Linked DNA regions of Homo sapiens: all the other regions are linked to region 2. Evidence: promoter capture Hi-C in 16 types of primary human blood cells and fetal thymus (Javierre and others, 2016). All regions are on one chromosome and are shown on one strand. Each heading gives the region's core, a stretch centred on a gene start or on the middle of the fragment in contact. The rest is flanking DNA. Distances are from core to core; before and after follow the strand shown. Region 1 overlaps COL4A1 (collagen type IV alpha 1 chain). Region 2 holds the start of COL4A2-AS2 (COL4A2 antisense RNA 2). Region 3 overlaps COL4A1 (collagen type IV alpha 1 chain).

Evidence for each region. Contacts are between HindIII fragments. The CHiCAGO score rates a contact against its expected background, and 5 or more counts as called.
Region 1: a fragment that was not itself captured here is called in contact with the fragment with the promoter of COL4A2-AS2 in region 2 in 1 of 17 cell types (endothelial precursors); the score reaches 6.8 in endothelial precursors.
Region 3: a contact is called between a fragment that was not itself captured here and the fragment with the promoter of COL4A2-AS2 in region 2, in 1 of 17 cell types (endothelial precursors). The highest score is 5.8, in endothelial precursors.

What each region holds. Positions count from the first base shown.
Region 1 is chr13:110,229,156-110,232,489 of GRCh38, reverse strand. The region is part of intron 2 of COL4A1 (collagen type IV alpha 1 chain); the gene reads left to right. Among named protein-coding and RNA genes, the nearest start is that of COL4A1, 76 kb to the left of the region's middle. The HindIII fragment of the contact is 7,457 bases long and covers 1-3,334 here.
Region 2 is chr13:110,462,037-110,464,891 of GRCh38, reverse strand. COL4A2-AS2 (COL4A2 antisense RNA 2) reads left to right here and starts at 1,605. Exons shown (of 5, transcript NR_171022.1): 1 at 1,605-1,869. COL4A2 (collagen type IV alpha 2 chain) reads right to left here. Exons shown (of 48, transcript NM_001846.4): 23 at 2,706-2,778; 24 at 2,508-2,614. The HindIII fragment of the contact is 13,540 bases long and covers 1-2,851 here.
Region 3 is chr13:110,280,460-110,283,607 of GRCh38, reverse strand. The region is part of intron 1 of COL4A1 (collagen type IV alpha 1 chain); the gene reads left to right. Among named protein-coding and RNA genes, the nearest start is that of COL4A1, 25 kb to the left of the region's middle. RefSeq lists an enhancer at 1-187. The HindIII fragment of the contact is 1,259 bases long and covers 802-2,060 here.

The DNA.
Region 1 (3,334 bases), core at 12-2,511, 230 kb after region 2:
TGGGATTTTCCTCCTGTTTGTTGGTAGAATATTTTGAGCATTCAAACACGTTTCTAGACAGCAAGTTGTGATGCTAGATAATTAGGTAGTGTGGGTGTGGAGAACTGCACGCTCAAAAATGGTATTAACAGACCTTCATCCTTGTGAAGTGGTTTAGCACAATGTGCAATTAAACAAAGGAAGAATTAGTCAGAGTTAACGAGCAAACCAGATGGCTCTGGGGACGTGGTGCCCCTTTGTCAGATTTTTCTTCCTTTGGCAAATCCATTAAACATGGTAAAAGTATACTTCATATAGCTTAGCTTTGGTTCGTCACATAGTTTTATGAGTTTAATGCTAACTGGCCCCAAATTCAATGATTCTGGATTTCCTCACATGAGAATCTGACACGAGAAGCTAACAGTGATTCCTGGCTAATTTCTAAAAAGCTGTAGTGAAATCAGAAGGGTTAAAGACCCTTGGTACGGTTTCTCCTTTATTAGATATTTGGACAAATACCTGAAGGTAATGAATGATAGATGTGAATTTCTTACACACGTCTTGCTAGAGCTTGAGGACTTAACCAGAGAATTTTCTGTGGGCGTCCCGCTGTAGCATGTTAGGGCCTTAGGTTAATTTGCCCTCCTAGGTGAGAAATCCACAACCCTAAGACTTGAGTACCCAAGTCTGTGGCATGTGGTGACATGCTTGATTTTGAAGTGGTTTTCCCTAGAAGATTGGTAAAGGAATGACATCTGTCTATAGTAGAGCCAGTAAATTCCTTGAGCTGGAGAACCAATGTCCACTCATCCCAGTGCCTCCTTGTCCTGTGGGCTCCTGCTGTACCCGTGGGCCTGGGTAGTGGCCAGCGGCAGTCCTGGAGCCTGCCCTACAGGTTCATGATGGAAGATGCTAGCCAGTAATAGCACAACTGAACCCCCAAGTGAACACTCTGCTAAGACCTCCAGGGAGGGAGAAGGCACGGCTGCGAGAATGGATGTCCAATGGGAAGAAATTGATCTGCAGGGGGCAGGGAAGGGCAAACCGAACGGTCATTCGCAGGCCCCAAAAGCTCAGGCAGCCGCTCAGGTGCGGTGGCCCATGATTTACGCCTCCAAATTCCATTTCCCTGTTTGACGTCAGGTTTTTCCCGATTTGGAAATGTTGGTGCTTTGAGAAATGTCCATGGACAACTGTGCCTCCTCACCTCCCCCTTCTCACTTCCACGTACAAGACTCCAGAATGTTAAAGGACACATCTCCATGAGTGTGAAACTGTTTGTCGCTGTTTGACTCTCTGTGTCCCCATGTGGGGCTCCCCAGTCTCATCGATATGTCCTGGGCAAGGGCAAGAGGCACCTCGGTGGATCTTGTTCCCACACTGACTGTCTCCTCACCACGCGGGCTGGAAATGCTGTGTGTTTTTCTGAGTCAGGGCTTTGGGAGGCAGCACCCTGTCTCCAGGTTCTTGGAGTTTTATGGATGCAACGTCATTAATCATCCTGACGGGGCTGATGTGGGTGGCAGGTGTTGGGTTCTGCCTCCTGATTGGGAGGAGGGGCTGGGTGCCCTGCCCTGAATCTGAATGTAGAGGCCCTGGGTAAACGGGTGTGCCCTGTCCTGCCTGGACCACACATCAGGAGCCCTGGGAGCAGAGGTTCCGGGCGGCTGGAGGCCTCCTTGCTTCCGCCTCTGCACGTGGAACCTGCATTTCTTCACAGGAGACCGTGGCTCCACAGGTGTCCTGCCTGTCAGGGCAGAGGAACATACCACGGGGGGACTTCCAGCAAACGTGAGGAACAGCACGCTGGCGTGACTGGGGCAGAAAGCAGAGTGGTGTTTTCTTCTTTGGGGGCCTTTGATAGGGACCTGGGCAGGGTGTGGTGGGGGCCGGAGGTGCAGTGGCTTCTGCAGGAGGCTGGGGAGGCTCCCCGTGGTCTTAGAGGAGGTGCACCACCCGTCCCACCTCACTCGCCCCCTTTACCCTTCTTCCCTTTATAAAATTTCTGCCCTTTCTGTTCCTCCCACCACAATTTCCCATCCACTTTTCCTTTCTCTCTGTTCAGGGCTCATGTACACCTGTGTGATTTTCCAGGGTGTCACGACGAGCCCTGATGACCCGCGCCTGCCACCTGTGTGCTTTGTCCTCTCTACTTCACATGTGTGCATGCACACATCACGTGCATGCACATATCACATACACGCACACACCACACACATACATATACACGCACCACACACATAACATATACACACACCACACACACATACATACCACACACACCACTTACATATACATGGAACACACACCGTGCACACCCACACCACGGGCACACACTCACACACACACGCACTTTCTTCAGGAACCTCCCAGCCCTCCCCCTCCACCACGTGGCCTGAATGGAGCCCTCCTCGTCCACCTGTTTTGGGCTTGGTTCTGCTCCTTTTTCCTGAGTGGGGGATTTTGGAGGGTGCTGCCCTTGGGCACTCAGTGTGGATTTGATGCTGTGGAAGGGGACAGGAGAGCTGGTGGGCCAAGCTGGGAGGGCAGTTACCGTGGAGTGAGAGCCAAGGCCAGCCGGCAGAAGTCACCCACAAGAGGGTGAACGTCGGAAGTGGGGCCCAAGGAAATTACTGACATTTTACAGGGCAGAGGCATAGGGCTTTTTCTTTTCCTCTTAGTCTCCCCAGGATGCTGTAATAGGATACCACAGACTGGGTGGTTTCAGCAGCAGAAGTGTGTTCCTCCCGTGCTGGAGGCTGGAAGTCCAAGATCAAGGCTCCAGCAGATTCGAGGTCGGCTGTGGACCCCTTCTTCATAGGCAGCGCGAGGGCGGGGGCTCTCTCTGGGGTCTTTTTTCTAAGAACACTAATTCTGTTCATGAGCCTCATCACTTCCCAAGGCCCCACCTCCATGCCATCACCTTGGGGGTTAGAATTTCCACACAGGAATTTGGGGCGGGGCATGGACATTCAGAACACAGCACTTTTATTATCCTGGGATGCAGGACACGTACAGTGATGTGTGGCGACAAAATGCATCCCAGCTGTGTTTAAGTAACTGTGTAATTGGCTGGAAATTTCTCAATGTGAAAAAATTCGAGTCATTCAGATTTAAAGTTGAAAACCTCCTAAGAGGAAAGAGTTGGGACTCTGACCTCTAAAACCCTTCTAAATGTTAGTGTCCTCTGAGTTGAGATCTTTCCTGTGAAGCTGGAGGTACTTCAACACTCTACTGTTACTGGCCTTTCTAGAGCAAAAGCTATTTTACTGAAAAGAACTTTGGTATGCAGTACATGTCAGAACTGTCCACTCATTTGAAGTGAAGGAAGATCAGGCCCATAATGGGTGATTAC
Region 2 (2,855 bases), core at 356-2,855:
ATGAAAGCACCAGCTGCAGGGTGCGGGGGGGAGCTGGTGGGAGGTGCAGGGATGGGGTGGGGAGGCTGGCAGCAGTGATGCTGGTGTGATCTGCGCACACACCACGGCACGGCTCGGTGCTGTCCCCACGTGCTGGTGGAACAGCCATGCGCATAAGCTCCCGCTCATCTGCTGAGCCACGGGACGAGGCTGGGTGTTCTCATGACAATGAGGCAGCTGCTTATAAGAAATCAAACCCTGCTCTCCACTGACACCACAGCCCCTTCCTTGTCAAAGGCATGACGGAGCGGGGCAGGGACACCGGTCCAGCTCTATTTATGAGACCTTGATTAAGTGGTGTACCCCTGTGTTTTAGCTTTTTTTCACAGGGGAGGGGGACACAAGGCTGTTGCAGAGATCACAGGGCAGATGCCCCAAACTTAGTGGACAGCAGTGGGGATGATGCCACTGGAAGGTGGCACAGGCAGGATCACGAGTTTTCTAAAGGCAGAAGTTGACATTCTTGGTTTAGAGATGCCACCAAACAAGGAAGGCACACAAGCACTGGGAAAGTCCCTACACCCCGAGAATGGGAAGCTGAGGCTGCAAGGTTCTCCCTGACCCTAACCCTCACCCCTACCCCTAACCCTGCTCCGACCACCTGCCCCCAGCTGGGCTGGGACTGGCAGCCAGGCTTGGGAGCCGCAGGGGTGGGTGAACCCCATGGCTGGACAGGTGCACCTCCTGGTCACCAACTTCACAAGGCACCAACTCCAGGGAAGGCCACCACTACCGTAACAAATCCAGACTCAAACGGACCACACACATACACACATGAGCACACCACACACCACACATACACTCACCACCCCCACCCCACATGACACTGAACAGGCCAAAGACTGTTCCAACCACAGGAATCATCACTCATCCTCCTCTTCTGGCTAAAGTGACCAATTATGACTTTGCCTCTTATTTAACCCTGTTGCCTCCCAGATGAGATTTTTAAGATACCCAATCATAGAATTATCTGTGTTCTCTGGCCCCAAAAAACTGCACTTAAATTGTAAAAATGTGGGCCGGGTGTGGTGGCTGATGTCTATAAAACCAGTGCTTTGGGAAGCCAAGGCAGGAGAATCACTTGAGCCCAGGAGTTTGAGACCAGCATGGGCAACATAGAGAGATCTCATCTCTACAGAAAATTTTAAAAATATTAGGTGGGTGTGCTGGTGTGCACCTGTGGTCCCAGGTACTCGGGAGGTTGAGGCAGGAGGATGGCTTGAGTCCAGAAGTTCGAGGCTGCAGTGAGCTTTGATTGTACCACTGCACTCAAGAGTGTTATTACAGACATGACCCACGTTAAAACTAGAGAAGACATGGGTTATGGAATGAGGCAAATAAGCTGCGAATAGAATTCAGGCGTGAGGCTCTGAGGAGGAGAAAGAGGATTATGACTTCAATCGTCCTCCAATGATGCTGAAGTCTTAACCCCCAGGACCTAGACATGTGACCTTATTTGGAAATAAGGTCTTTGAGGGTGCTCAAGGTCAGATGAGGTCTTTAGGATGGGCCCATTCCAATATGACCGCTCTCCCTATAAAAAGGGGAAATTTGGGCCCAGAGACAGACACACAGAGAGGACAGATGATGAGAAGACAGAGAGAAGACAGCCGTCTATAAGCCAAGGAATGCCAGAGCTCCGGGAACCTGGGAGAGAGGCAGGGACAGATCCTCCCGCACTGTCTCAGAAGGAACCAGCCCTGCAGACACCTTGATGTCGGCTTTCAGCCTCCAGAGCTGTGAGACCATACATTTCTGATGTCTAAGCTGCCCAGTCTGTGGCAGTTTGTGACCTCAGCCCCAGGAAACCAGTACAAAGAGCTTAAGGAGGTACAGGCTTGGTGACTAGAGGGAGGAAAATGGAATCTAGAAAAAAAGACGTGAGAAATAAGGTTGCAAGGTCCTTCTGAGAAGAGAATGCTCCAGAGCTGGCAGTGGGAAAGGCGTGGTGGCAGGAGAGGCTCAGAGGCTGGAGGGTGCACAGGAAGGGGTCTTGTCTCCCTCCATGGCTGCCTCCCGCGCCTCTGACCCCAGCCTCCCCTGAGGAAATGATGCTGGGGTCTCTGCAGGCTACTAGGTAGCCCCTCCTTCAACACCAGTGTGTGTTTGTTGCAAAAATGAAATTGTATATTTCATGATTTACCTTGGAAAAATAGGGTTCCACCACCCATTTTAGAATAGTCTACTTTTTTTGGCGGGGGAGGGTTCTTAGTCTGTTACACCAGGAGGAATATTTCTTTGATTGTTGACTTTTAAATGTTCATTTGGAGCTTGGCTTCTAACTTAATTCACCGTTTCCTAAAAAGTCTGATTTCTGCTCATTAGAAATAGAATGAGCAGAATGAGCAGCCTGTCCTATGCACAGGTTGGTTTAGTGCTCATGTCAATACTGTTTGCTTCTGGGGTGTTTGGAGAACCTGAAGGATGAAGAAGAGAGGACGGAGCTGCCGCAGTTTGTGGCTACTCACGGGAGGGCCTGGGAGGCCGGGGAATCCATCGAGCCCATCGCGGCCTGGGCTGCCATCGTCACCTTTCATCCCGGGCACACCTGGGACGCCGGGCTGTCCCCGCTCACCTAGAAAGGGATTTGCATGTGAAGCTGCCCAGGCAGGTGCCCACAGGAAGGCTCAGTGCCCCAGGGGCCGCGTGGCCAGAGAGGAACTCACCTTTGGTTGTGATTGTTCTGGAATCTCCTTTTGCTCCTTTGGGTCCGGGAGCACCAATGTTGCCAGGCACTCCCTGTGGAAAACAGACAAAAAAATATCTTCCTTCTTTGTACTGTGAGGGCATCTGAGAAGATGGCTGGCAAGCTTTTT
Region 3 (3,148 bases), core at 182-2,681, 180 kb after region 2:
GTGCCTGTATGTGAGGGAGTGTATGCATGTGTCTGCATATGCAGATGTCTGTATACACAGAAAGGTGTGTGCAGGTGCACATGTGCGTGTGTGTGCGTGAGAGTGTGCGTGTGCCTATGGGGCGCCCAGACACCTTGGCCCTTCCCTTTGTATTCTTGCTGTTCTTAGTGAGTTTACATCATGGCTTGGGCACGGCTCACATTCTCATCTCCCTACATTAGTGACATCAACACATTTCACATTTGGCTTATTAGCCACTTCTATTCAATGTCAAAAAGCAAATGTATGATTTAAAAACTAGCTGCTGACATAAAATTTTCTAGTCTACATTATTCTTTATTTTCTTGAACCTCTCTTTTCCTGAAATCTCTGATTCGATGACTCGTCTTTTCTGAACATATTATATTATTTGATGACAGAGAGAATCAAGTAATTACTCTTCAGTCTCTGTCTTTCCTATGAAGAACTGAACATCCTTCAAACTGGGAACACTAAATAAAACATGGTAAGGAGAGAACTGAATCACAGGCAAGGCAAAGAGAGAGAAAGATACCATGCAATTGCTTAAAACTAACTGAAGCCTTTATGCTTGGAGGTGAGGCCCCAGGGCCTCAGGGGCACCTGGAAGCGACTGGGATCACTGGCTCATTTTGATTTTGAAATGTGGAGACATGCAGGAAGATTGGAGAGGGCAATGTTCCGATGGCCACGAAAGAACAAAATTGAATTCCAGAAATCACATATCAGTGAACTTAGCATGGACAATTATATTTCCAAATTGATTTTTTTTGACAGAAAGCTTGTGAATACTTAAATAAAGAGTTCATGATCCCTGGAAGCCAACACAGGTGCCCCAAAACAGGTCAGGAGAATCAGTAGGCACAGCAGGGATGCCATTCAGGGACATATACTTCAGGGTACAGACCCTGTGCTTGGAGAAGCCATGTCCCAGGGTAGGACACACAGTTATGTGAGAGCACTTCATCTCAATGACCTTGGCAGGGCCTCAAAATTCTCCCCAATTCAGAGCTCCTGCAGCCATCCTTGACTGGTAGGAATTGACACTTGAGTTGAAACCAGCTTGCCATTGCTAATCTAAAGGATGTGCATTGGAAGTGAGGACAGGGTGACTTGCGTGGATGCAGCCATGCCAGGGAAGGTACAGTAGGGATGAAGATGGCATTGAGGAGACACAATGAACAGCTTAGAATGCACAGCATGAGTAGGAAAGTGATAATACCTAAGAGTCACCACCAGCTTCCCTTGATGTGCCAGTACTCTACATGAGTCCCCCACAGTCTGCGCAATGACAGTGTGAGGTGGGTTGTCTTACTCCCATTTTATTGATGAGAAAACAAAAGGTCAAGGACTTTTCTCCACTAGTATTCAAACTCAGGTCTGTCTGAATCCAAGTTTACAATATTGACATTGATATGCCACCTCTCCAGCATTGGTAGGGAATTCTGACAAGGGGAGAGAGGTCAAATTGTAAAAGTTTTATACACTAGAAACTGGTGAGTAATTGGTGATTTGTGACCAAGGGTCTTTGCTGGGGAGAATCCTCTTAAGTAAGACTAGGTGGATAATGGTAAGCAGGCCCTAAGGTGAGGCGAGGACACGCAGCCAGGAAAACTGAAGGGAGCTGTTGTGTTTCAGGCATAAACTGATGGAGATCTGAGCAGGGAAGGTGGCCAGGGGAATGCGAAAGAAACTGTAGATGTCAGGGCCTTTTGCAGAAAACATCCACAGAACTGTGTGCCGACTCTCTGAAGGGCAGAGAAACAGATGGGTTGAGTAAGTTTACTAAAATGTGAGAGGGGAATTGATGTTCCTGCCAGATTGGTAAACGGCCATACCATTAGAAGAAGAGTCCCTTATTTTGTGAAAATTCATTGGCTGAGAGGTACTAATTATTTCAGATAGTGGAGGTAAAGTGGGTAAGACTTTACTCTTTGATCAAGGGTCTACCCAAATCTTGACTAGTCTTCTTAATTACTTAATTTATAGATTTTTGATGAAATTGAGTTTCTGTGTGAGCCCCCATAGTGGAAATCTAAGCTTCCTACTGTTTTTTTTAAACATTTTCTCTCTATATTGCAGCAGGTAACCACTTCCTCTTCTCTTTCCCTTCACTGCAGTTTGTGAATGATCTGGCTGTTTTTGGCTTATGGCACATCTGGGTTCTCCTTTGGTCCTTCTCAAGAATTAATTACTGTTCATAAAGTATTTTGAAATAATGTCAGAAAATGTCCTTCAAGGAGCACAGAGTACTTTTTGGAACATTAAAAAATTCTCAGTATTTCTGCTTCTCACGTTTTGTTTTGGGAAATAAGAATTCTGGCTGTAGGAGATGGCGGGGGGAGGTTAGTCTTCCCAGAGTCGTGTCATCACAGAACAGTGTTGCTCCTTACAGCTGTTATCCCAAGAGAAGAAAACGGGAGAGAGTGCCGGCCACGTTTTGTGGCTTACACAAGCCAGTTGATGGTGTCAAAGATGTTGTTGAGTTCTCTGGCCAAAGGATGTTCTGTTTTCTGAAAAAGTTTAGAGCTGCAGAATTGTTTTTATGCTCGAGTGGCTAAAAAAATGGGACACATGGTTGGGGTGAGGAGAAAAGCCATATTTTACTGATCCAAAGGAATTGGATCACTCCTGAAGCAAACAAAGTATAATACGGCGATCTAAGTAGATAGTTGCATATATTGAACACAAAGGCAGAGCATTAGAGTAAGAAACCTTCAGCCAGATCTCGGATGTATTTCATAACATGTGTTCGTTGAAAGAATATAAGAAAGGCTCTAGGTCTTGAAAAAAGAAAGAAAATTCTCCTTCACATTTATATTCATGTATTACTAGCAAGATTACAAGTTCTCAGAATAGCACCAAGATGAAAGAGGCTTACCAGAATTATTGAAAAGGGGATTTTTCGAGGCCACTTATAAAACCAACACACCAAATTTGGTGTTGCAGATGTAGGCGTGGGATTGTCCTCTGTCTTCAGAGGTGTAATACGTAAAGCCCATGCCATGCGGCGCTGCTAAGCCAAAGCAAACCATGATTTGTGAGCAAGAACTTGAAGATTCTATATAATTCATTTTTTGAATACTTTCTCTTGTAATACAAGCATAGAATTGTTTTCGTTTTCAATGGC